2 separate regions of the Homo sapiens genome follow, and region 2 is linked to region 1. The links are contacts of gene promoters, found by promoter capture Hi-C in blood cells and fetal thymus (Javierre and others, 2016). All regions are on one chromosome and are shown on one strand. The core of a region is centred on a gene start or on the middle of the fragment in contact, and the rest is flanking DNA. Distances in the headings are between cores, read along the strand shown.

Region 1 (4,839 bases), core at 612-3,111:
ATGGGGAGAGGAATTCTATAGAAATAGAATGAAAGAAACTTGGGTTGGGACTAGAGTTAAAGAACTTTAGACTGTCAAGTAATGACATAGCATTGAACATTTTTTAGTAGAGTGGCTAAAATGTAAAGAATGGACAGAAAGAACAGCAGTATGCATTAATTTCAGTTTATATAAACACTACCATGGACCAGGTGTTGGGATTAGACTTCAAATTTGGGGATTAGATAATTTGTTGATAGAATGGACAATGGTTTGTGAGGAGAAGAAAGAGGTGAAGCTGATTCTGCAGTTCCAAGTCTGGGTGACTGGGAGGATGTTAATGCCAGTCTCTAAGCAGAAGCAGGTTTGGAGTGGAATAGGTTTCGTTTTGGGCATACTGTTGACATGACAAAACTGATGTCACATATCCTATTTCCTGACTCCTCCTGGGATTGTCCCAGAGCTATTACCATGATTAATAGTTCATATTGAACAACTCCTTGAGAATAAAATGCCACAGGTATCATTTACGTATGACACATTACGTTCTTCTGGCAACTAGGTAGTTGATCTGAAAGACGGGCTGTTCAAAGTTCAAATCATCTTAATTGCACAATGCCGCCGACTGTACGCCCATAAGATACCTTAACCCGGTACACTTCAAAGACAATATTCTCGCCCTTACAACAGAGCTATACATTGTAAACTGCAAACTGAAAAGTAGCCTTTATTCTGAAGGAAAATCAATTTAATATTCTTCCACTAAATTATCAAAACAATTTTTTTGGCGGAGGCTGGGGAGGGGGTGGTGGCTGAAGCCTCGCCAGAGACTGAATGTGGTGTGGGATTCAACTAAAGCAGCACATCTTCAGTAGGTCCCCCGTGGAGGGTAACGAACATCTTGGGTTGTCTTTCACCAGAATTGTGTTCAACAACTCACGTTCTGGAGCCAACCCGCCGCAGATCAGAATCCAGCTTCTGCACCACACAGCCGTGATCTCGGACAAGTTACTCAATCTCTTGTGTCTCAAATTCTTTACCTATAAAACATCTACAACTAGAACTGAAGACTTGGCTGCCAGGCACTGGGCTAGACATAGATTTACAGCGGTGAGGACCACCAAGGGGAGCTAAAATTCGAATGTAGGGAACAGACGATTAACAAGTTAGTTTCAGAATGAAAGACTCGAGTGTAAGAATTCAATGGGATAATTCCTGTAAAGCGTTTAGTACAGTAAAGAGCGAAGGGAAATTCTGAATAAAAGGCAGACACTATTTTAGGATTTGGCCTTCCCCGCCCCCTACCAAAACCACGTAAACTCTTAACAGAAGCGACTTCTTATTGTCAGGCGCCTAAAGGCGGCTTTTGGGATAGGGAGGGTCCTTTCTTCCTCCTTGGGGTAAATGCGATTTAGCAGCCTTTACCGACCTACCCAACCCCAGGGCCATTTTGTGGGAGGAGGTTCTCTCGTGCTAGACAAGTTCCCTCTAATAAAGCCCCTTAGCCGAGATGCCAGGATTGGGGTTAGGGAACCTCGCCGCTCCCACAAGGGCTGGGCACAAAAAACAAACAAAAAAACACAAGTTATTTTGATCTTCCCCCAAAGAATAGTAAAGGAATTTCCCCCGACCCCGGCCGCCAGGAGCCCAGAGACCCCCCAGCCTAAATAACAATGGCGCTGGAGAGGGCGTGGCCGCGCGTACCTGGGGTGGGGGAAGGGGAGAAAGGCGGCCAGTTCGGATCTGAGCCACTCGCAGGGTCACGTGACATCCTGCCTCGCCCCGCCCCGCGAACAAACCTAGGCGGGGAGGGATTCGGGAAGGGGCGAGGAAGCGGAAGGAGCAGGCGGACTGGCGATGATGGGAAGTGACGAAGTGGCGCAGTTCGCTGCGTGCAGCGACGTGGCGGCGGGGCCGGCACCGGGCAGCGGAAGTGGCTCCGGCGGTGGGACTTGAGTGTTTGTGTTTTGGTTCGTGAAGGAGCCGGCGGCTGGCCTTAGGGGAGGAGGCAGAGGGAGGAGGAGGAGGAAGAATTAGTCGGAACTCCAGCGCCGGCGGCGGCGGCGGCGGCGGAGGAGGAGAAAGGAAAGAGGAAGGGGGAGCGGCGAGAGGCGGAGACGGAGCCCGACAGGGGCGGCACCACGGCACGAGCCCCGCACAGTCCAGTGTGAGGGGAGCGGCGCTAAGAGCAGGCGACGCCGCCGCCGCCACCACCACCGCCATAGATACACTCTCATCCTACGGGCCACGCCTGGGCCTTGCTGCCAGGAAGCTTCGGCCCCGCAGCTCGGCTTGCTGCGGTCTCAGGTAACCGAACCGCCCCTCCTCCTGCGCAGCGGGGGCCTGGACCCCAGGTTATCCGCGGTCCCCAGCCTGTCCGCGGCCCTGCCGGTACTGAGACCCCCCACCCCTTCTCCCTCACGCGCAGCAGTGCCCTGGACCAGAGAACTATCGAACCCGGCGTCTTGTTCTGCCAGCCCTGGTGACTCATCCTCCAGGGGCTCTGGAGACCGGGATTTGGGGACTGACTGAGGGAGCGACGGGTGTCACCCTTTCCCTTCTCAAGATGGCGCCGTGGAAAGTGTACTGGAGGCCGCGGTTCCGCCTGGTCTCCGTCCTGGCAGTCCTGGGGGTCTCGGTCAAAGCAAGGCAGGTTCGGGGGAGGAGGTTGGAAAGGCCAAGGGACCTGGCGAGTGCTGCTTATCCAGGCGATCTGTAGTTGGCTATTAGCTACTCAGGTGCTCTCCAAGCAGGAACCTGGGCCTACTGCAGGTGTCAATGTGGGGAGCTCCGCCTATCTTCAACTTCCAAAGATGAGTAGTGTCGGTGGGTGGGAGGCTCGTCAAAATAGGCTGTCTAGAGACTTGTTTTCTGTTTGGAAGGTAGTGAACTACAGCGTTAAATAAATTCAAGATAACAGGACCGCTGAACTCCTTCACTGGGTAGAGACCATGGAACTTGCTCTGGCGTTATCTTCCCTGGAAGCTGCTTACCTCTGAGACTTTCAAACTTGTTAAGTTCTGAACGTCATAGTTCACATACTTGGTTTTTGTCTTGCTTAAATGGAATCAAAGCGTTCAATCAGTTGCCTTTCACATAATAAGAAAAAAACACTTGTACACCTCTGGGAATACTCAAGACTGCTCATAAACTTTATTCCTAAAGTAAAATGGAAGTGATAACTCAGCATTTGTATAAACAAAGTAAATGGAACAGTGCCTGGCACAAAATAAGTGCCCAGTCAATTTTTTGATCAAAGAACCCTTAGAAGGATTTTAACTATAGAATGAATAACAGTTATTTTCAAAAGATTACAAATGTATATTATGCAAAATTCTTGTTTTGCAAAACAGAAGTTTCAGTAAGCAGTGAATACAAATGAATGCACGTAATTTTTAACCTTAGTGTTATGCTAAGTGTATATTTACCATTAACTTTAGTTATTTCCTGTTTGAGATCCTTAGGGGGAGTAGCCACAATTAAGTAGCTTTAAACCTTAAAAGTCAAAGTGAAATCAGAATCTTGTTTGATTTTTTTTTTTAATGGGAGTCTGATATTTTCCCTAAAATTTTGGAAGTGCCGTAGAAATTTGGAGCATATTGTCCTTGATAAGTAATTTCTTGTTTTCTTAAATAAAAAGACAAATGGAAAATGTTTTGATTGTGTGTAATATCTGAAGATGTATTGGTGCATTTTCAGTATATATGATGTTCTATTGATATTTTATCATTTTCTTATCAAAGGAGCACATTATTGGCAATTTCAATCCCTACTATGTATATTAGAGATTGTTTACATGTATTGTTTTATTTAATTGTCACATCAGCTATGCAAGTTAGATATTATGGGAATAGAAACTTGGAAATTAAAGAGTTTGCCCAGACGGAAATTGGTATAGCCAGGATTACACCCCTAAATCTGGTATGTTTGTGGAGGAGGGGGCATTTTTATTTATACCTTGTTATTTGGAAGCAACTCAGATATTACGTCAATAAATCTGTAAATATTTCAGTATGTAATGGTAAAAGATAAGGACTCTAAAAAGCTGGTGTTTAGTTAAGGCAAGGAGGTAGTTTCATTGCCTTAAGAACTAAGATCTCGTGGACATGTTAGGGAATTCATTATGAAGAGCGTATTATAAGCTCATTTTATGGGAAAGGCATATTTCTTTCTTTTGTTTTTAATATAGAGACAGGGTCTCACTGTGTTGCCCAGGCTGGTCTCAGAGTCCTCCTGCCTCACCCCCAAAGTGTTGGGATTTACCGGTATAAGCCACTCTGTCCAGTGTGAAAGACGTATTTCTTATATGAGGTAGCTAAATGAAATATAGCAGGGTTTTTAGAGAGGGAATCATCAGGTTTAATATATTAGCATGTATTCGGATTTTGATTAAAGATAGAAGGAAACTGTTAAGATTGGTTTGTGAGTGGATTGAAAAAGGTTCTTCAAATATTCACTAATTCCTTAGAGATTAAAAATTAGCATAGAAGTCGCCATTCAGGCTAGATTTCTTTAATGTGTTGTTTAAATAAAAAATAATGGCCTGCAGGCTGGGCGTGGTGGCTCACACCTGTAATCCCAGCACTTTGCGAGGCTGAGGCAGGAGGATTGCTTGAGCCCGAGAGTTCAGGATCATCCTGGGCAACATAGCAGTTAAGTGTCTCTACCAAAAAATTAGCCTGGCATGGTTCTGAGCGCCTGTAGTCTCAGCTACTCAGGAGGTTGAGGCAGGAGGATTGCTTGAGCCCAGGAGGTCTAGGTTGCAGTGAGCTGTGACCACGCCACTGCACTCCAGCCTGGGTGAGAGAGCAAAACCCTTTCTCCAAAAAAATTTTTTTAAAAATGGCATGTATATTGTTC
Region 2 (4,839 bases), core at 701-3,200, 3.7 Mb before region 1:
TTCCTGTTTCTATGCTTGCTCTCTATAGGCTACTCTGAACACAGCAGCCAGAATCATTTTTTAAAAAACTTAAGTTGGATCATAGCACTCCTATGTTCAAAAATCCCCCAATGGTTCCCTATATCACTCACAACAAGAGCCTAAGTCCTTAAAGTGATCCACAACTTCTTACGCTACTCTCATCCTGCTCTGCTCTGGTCACACTGGCCTCCTTTTTGTTCCTTGATAAAATCAGGCATGTTCCTGTCTTAGGTCCCCTTCACTGAACGATCCTTTGCTCGACTCTCTTACCTCATACCCTCATATGTACATGGCTCACTCCCTCACCTCCTTCAAATCTTTACCTATTAAGGCCTTTCTCAGTAAGGCCTGCCATGATCACCCTATGGAAAACTGCAACTTCCTCCCAGACCAGCACTCCTGATCTTCCTTACCGTTTGCTTTCTGTTGCAGAGCACATTTTAATACAAGAATGAATCATTATATTTCTAAATTATAGTCTAAATTATAGCCCGCTTCTCTCATGAGGCTCTGTGCCTCATCCCCACTTTCCCTATATTCATTTTGGACTTCATCCTTGAGAGTGTTAAGGTCCTTACCTAAGATTCCATTCCAAGTACTGAACAAAACTTTGGGTAGGAGTGGGCAGTAATAACATTTTTTTTTTCTATTGTCAACATCCTTGGGTGAAAGATAATAGGGCAACTAAAGACTAAAATGAAATTGTAAAGCTGCACCTAGGAATTATATCTCAAACAAGATAATGCAGAATTCTGTGTATAAGCCAGCACGAAATACCATACAATTGTTCCCTTCAAAGTAAGTCTAGCAGCTCTAAACAATTTTAATTACATATTAAATAGAAGAGAAATATAAAAAATTGTCCACTAAAATAATCTATATACTTTCTATTTAATAAATAATAATTTTCACTAAAGCTAGATTTATCTCTAAAGCTAAAATAAATTACGTAATCTGAACTTTAAACGTTTTAATTTACTATTCGGCTGTTTATCAATGGTGTTTAAAACCTGCCTAAAAAAATACCGCACTTTACCTAGCACAATGAAACATTCTCCTGCACTCATCACTGACAAGCTGATCTAAGTCCTTGCCACTGACTTACAATACCCTTCCCCCGTTTTAAAATTATATCCCTTACTTTGTCATAAATCACTTTTATAATGAGAGAGCAGCTAGGACACGTTGCCACGTCTTCCCCATTCTCCAAATCTTCCTACAACGAAATCAAATACCATGTGGTCAGGATAGCTTCTCTTCGCCATCTCCTCCCCCAAACCTATCCCACCCCTAGATGCAAGTCTCTTGGTGGCTTGCCTTCCCCCCAAGGTGGGTGAGAACCCCAGGGCCTTCAGCGAGAAATGCCGACATCATTTTCCCCTAGAAGCGTCACTTAGGGGAAACACCTAGGAAGGTCAGGCGAGCTTCGGTCGCCCCAAAAGCCCTGGGAAACAAAAAACGAGTCCCCTCCTCGACAGAAATATCCCAGGTTGGGACCCTAAGGCAGGGATCGGGCAGAGAGACAGAGGCTCTCCGCCACCCTCTCCCTGACCTAATCTAAGGCCAGAACTGCGTGCCTACCGAGAGAGCTCAGGGCATTAGTTGGGGTGGGGGGACGCGGGAGGAGGAAGATTCAGCAACGGGAAAGAGGGCGTGGGTGACACAGCGCAGCAAAGGCTACCCAATGATGGAAGGAACGGGCGGAACCAAACTGCGCTTGCTTGGGTGAACCGCCGGGCGGGACCCTGAAGTTACCTTGGTGATGGAGAAGTTATCTCCACATGGGCAGGGATAGAAATACGTCTCCGAGTCCTCGTCATATTGGAAGTCCTCGATTTCCACCTCGTCATGAAACACTGCCATGGTCAGCGGGGGTGGCCGAAGGGGTAACGCCCCAGCAGTCCGAGGCCAGCTCCGAGGGTTTAACTTCGCCGGAACCGGCCTGGGCTCGGCATCATCAGGTCGCGCCGGGCAAGGACTAGCCCTTCCGGCGCATAGGCAATGACGCAACTCCGCCCTGCGCGGCCAAATGGATAACCGGTAGCGGTCACCATGGAGATGGCTGAACTAGGGGCGGAGACACTGGGAAGACTGAAAGCTTGCTCAGCGGGGTCGCGCACCGCTCCTCCTATTGGGCGGCAGCGACCAATAGAATGTGGGGCTCGCCCGCGCTGCTACGTCACGTCTGGGACCGCGGAGTATTCCAGGCGCCTGCAACTAAACGTGGCCGGGTCTGCAAGCTAGGTGCCAGCGGGGAAAGTTTCCCTGCTTCTTATCGTCTGCTTTAACGCCTTAAATAGCCCGCTGAAGGCTGCAGCAGGTGCTAGGTAGCAGCCTCCCGGCCCTCGGGAAAGGCGGGGTGGGGAGGCGAGAGCAGCTTAGCCTCCTCGACCTCCCTTCCTGGTGACGGACGAACAGTTCCCGTAGAATTTCGCTTCACCGAGTGACCTTGAGCCCAGGGCGACGGTCAGCTTGTTAATTCCTGGCTGCAGGTACATTCCGCTTCTTCCTCACCCCAGACGCCTTAAAATACCCTAAATTGTGTTGCTGAAAGGACCAAGCCCTGGAAGGCAGGGATTGAGTTCTAGTCTTCTGTTTGCCAGGCTTATAACATTATTAACGACGATGATTTTTAGTAATAGTAATAACATCACCTTTTATTATTGGGAAGTTATGTGCCAGCTATTGCACTAAGTGGAATTGTCAACTCTAGGAGTTTACATGTTATTCCATTTTATTAATCTTTAAACTGAGGTACAGAGAGTTGGGCATCTTGACTAAAATCATACACCTGGGAAATAATGAAGAGCTTGTCTGTCTCCAAAGCCCAGGAACAAATTACTTATGTGAGTACCAGTTTTTTCGTTGTGAAAGAAATGGTGTCAGTAGGCAGGTTTATCAGTGTGAGGCCTATGTATGCCTTGAAGCGAAATGCAGATAAAAGGCATTTTTGTCTTGAAAGCAGTGCTAGTGCCTGTTTTGGTAAAACCGATTACATTGGGTCTTACTTAATTACTAGGCATTTTAATATCTTAGTAGAGAAGAAATGCATTGTAGTGAAAAAGCACTTTCGAGAGAAGATCTGGGATCGGAATCTTGAGTTGTTGATTACCTCTGGCAACTGGATATTTACATTCTTTGGGCCTTATTTCCTCTTCTAAGAAAGGATTGGAGTAGAGATGATATAAGATCCTTTTTAGATGTAATGTTCCACTTTTGCACGGAAATTATGAGCTTTACTTGGTTCAGCAATGATATATAACATTTAGTTTACATTTACGTAACACATATACATAATATATCCCTGTGCACTTTTGAAGAAAACATTACAATGACTACTAAACTTTACATTTATTCCTAAAAGGGCGGATCACGAGGTCAGGAATACGAGACCAGCCTGACCAACATGATGAAGCCCCGTCTTTACTAAAAAATACACAAATTAGCCAGGTGTGGTGGTGTGCCTGTAATCCCAGCCACTCAGGAGGCTGAGGCAGGAGAATCTCTTGAACCTGGAAGGCAGAGATTGCAGTGAGCTGAGATCACGCCACTGCACTCCAGCCTGGGCGACAGAGCTAGACGCTGTCTCAAAAAAAAAAAAAAAAAAAAAAAAGAAGTAGGTCATAATTGTATAATGCAAACTATATTTGATGAGTGCTGTTGTATATCAGGCCAGAAGGAGTTGTTTATTGGCAATACCAAACCTCCACCTCTCTAGGTTGTTTGACAAGGAAGAGAAGGGGTCAATGTATTAGGATTGATTTTAGTAACACTGTTGCTTGCCAGGTACTTTGGTAGACATTTTATTTATTCCTCTCAGTAATCCAGTGAGGTGGCGTGGGTAATGTTAAAATGGCAAGAGGAGACTTGCTGAAGATTAGAAAGCAGGAAGGAGTCACACCTGAGCCCAGTTCCGCTGATTTCCGGTCAAATACTCTGTGTATACTACTTGTTTACCACTAAGGTGTCTTTGCCTGTTGGAGCAAGAGGAGCCCTTTTTCTTCCTCAGTGACACCTAAGATTCTAAATTGACAGATGTCATGATTGTTCTTTGAACTTACTTAATTTCAGTGCATTTATGCTTATTGAGGCATTCTTGGCTTTTCTCTGTCAGTGTCCTCTCACACCCTGCCTAATGTATCAGCAAGTTTTGGGGCTCTAATTCCAAAATATATGTCATGTTCATCTACTTCTGCCATCTCTGTAGCTGTTACCTTATTATAATCTTAGACCAGAGTCTTTTAACTGGGTTTCCTGCTTCCACTCCTGCCCCTCTCCCTCTGTTATCCTTCCCACAGCAACTTGAGCAGTCCTTTAAAAATATAAATTAGGTCTTGTCCTTCTCCTGATTGATTCAGACTTTTCAGTTGCTTCCCATTACCCTTAGGATAAAATTCTTACCCTTACTATAGACTGCTGGACTTCATCTCATTTCACTCTTACCAGCTTACTGCTCTCCAGTCACACTGGCCTTGGTTCCTTTAACATGCCGGGCTTATTTCTGTGTTGGACCTTTGCTCTTGCTAGTCCTTCTGCCAGAGTTGTCTGCCTTTAACATTTGCTTGGCCGCCTTTTCCTCATCATTCAGATCTCAGCCAAGGTGTCATCACTGGAGAGATGTCTTTCTTGATATTTCCCCCACCTACCCCATCACTCTTACTCCCTTTATCATACTCATCATAATCTATAATTATCTTGTTATTTGTTTACTACTATCTGTCTCTGGAACTGTAATAAAAGCTTCATGATGGCAAGGGCCTTGCGTCTGGTTCTTTATTATATCTCCAAGGCCTAAAATAGTGCCTGGCACCCCTGTAG

What was found. Contacts are between HindIII fragments. The CHiCAGO score rates a contact against its expected background, and 5 or more counts as called.
Region 2: a contact is called between the fragment with the promoter of DPH3 here and the fragment with the promoter of RAB5A in region 1, in 1 of 17 cell types (fetal thymus). The highest score is 5.3, in fetal thymus.

Annotation. Positions count from the first base shown.
Region 1 is chr3:19,945,236-19,950,074 of GRCh38, forward strand. It overlaps RAB5A (RAB5A, member RAS oncogene family), which reads left to right and starts at 1,862. Exons shown (of 6, transcript NM_004162.5): 1 at 1,862-2,286. It also overlaps a transcript of EFHB not described here. RefSeq lists enhancers at 743-1,344, 1,755-1,924, 1,850-2,019, 1,881-1,930, 2,451-2,500 and 1 more. The HindIII fragment of the contact is 3,439 bases long and covers 1-2,249 here.
Region 2 is chr3:16,262,993-16,267,831 of GRCh38, forward strand. It overlaps DPH3 (diphthamide biosynthesis 3), which reads right to left and starts at 1,951. Exons shown (of 3, transcript NM_206831.3): 1 at 1,777-1,951; 2 at 1,163-1,237. The coding sequence starts at 1,884. OXNAD1 (oxidoreductase NAD binding domain containing 1) reads left to right here and starts at 2,220. Exons shown (of 9, transcript NM_138381.5): 1 at 2,220-2,513. RefSeq lists an enhancer at 1,783-2,092. The HindIII fragment of the contact is 11,235 bases long and covers 1-2,117 here.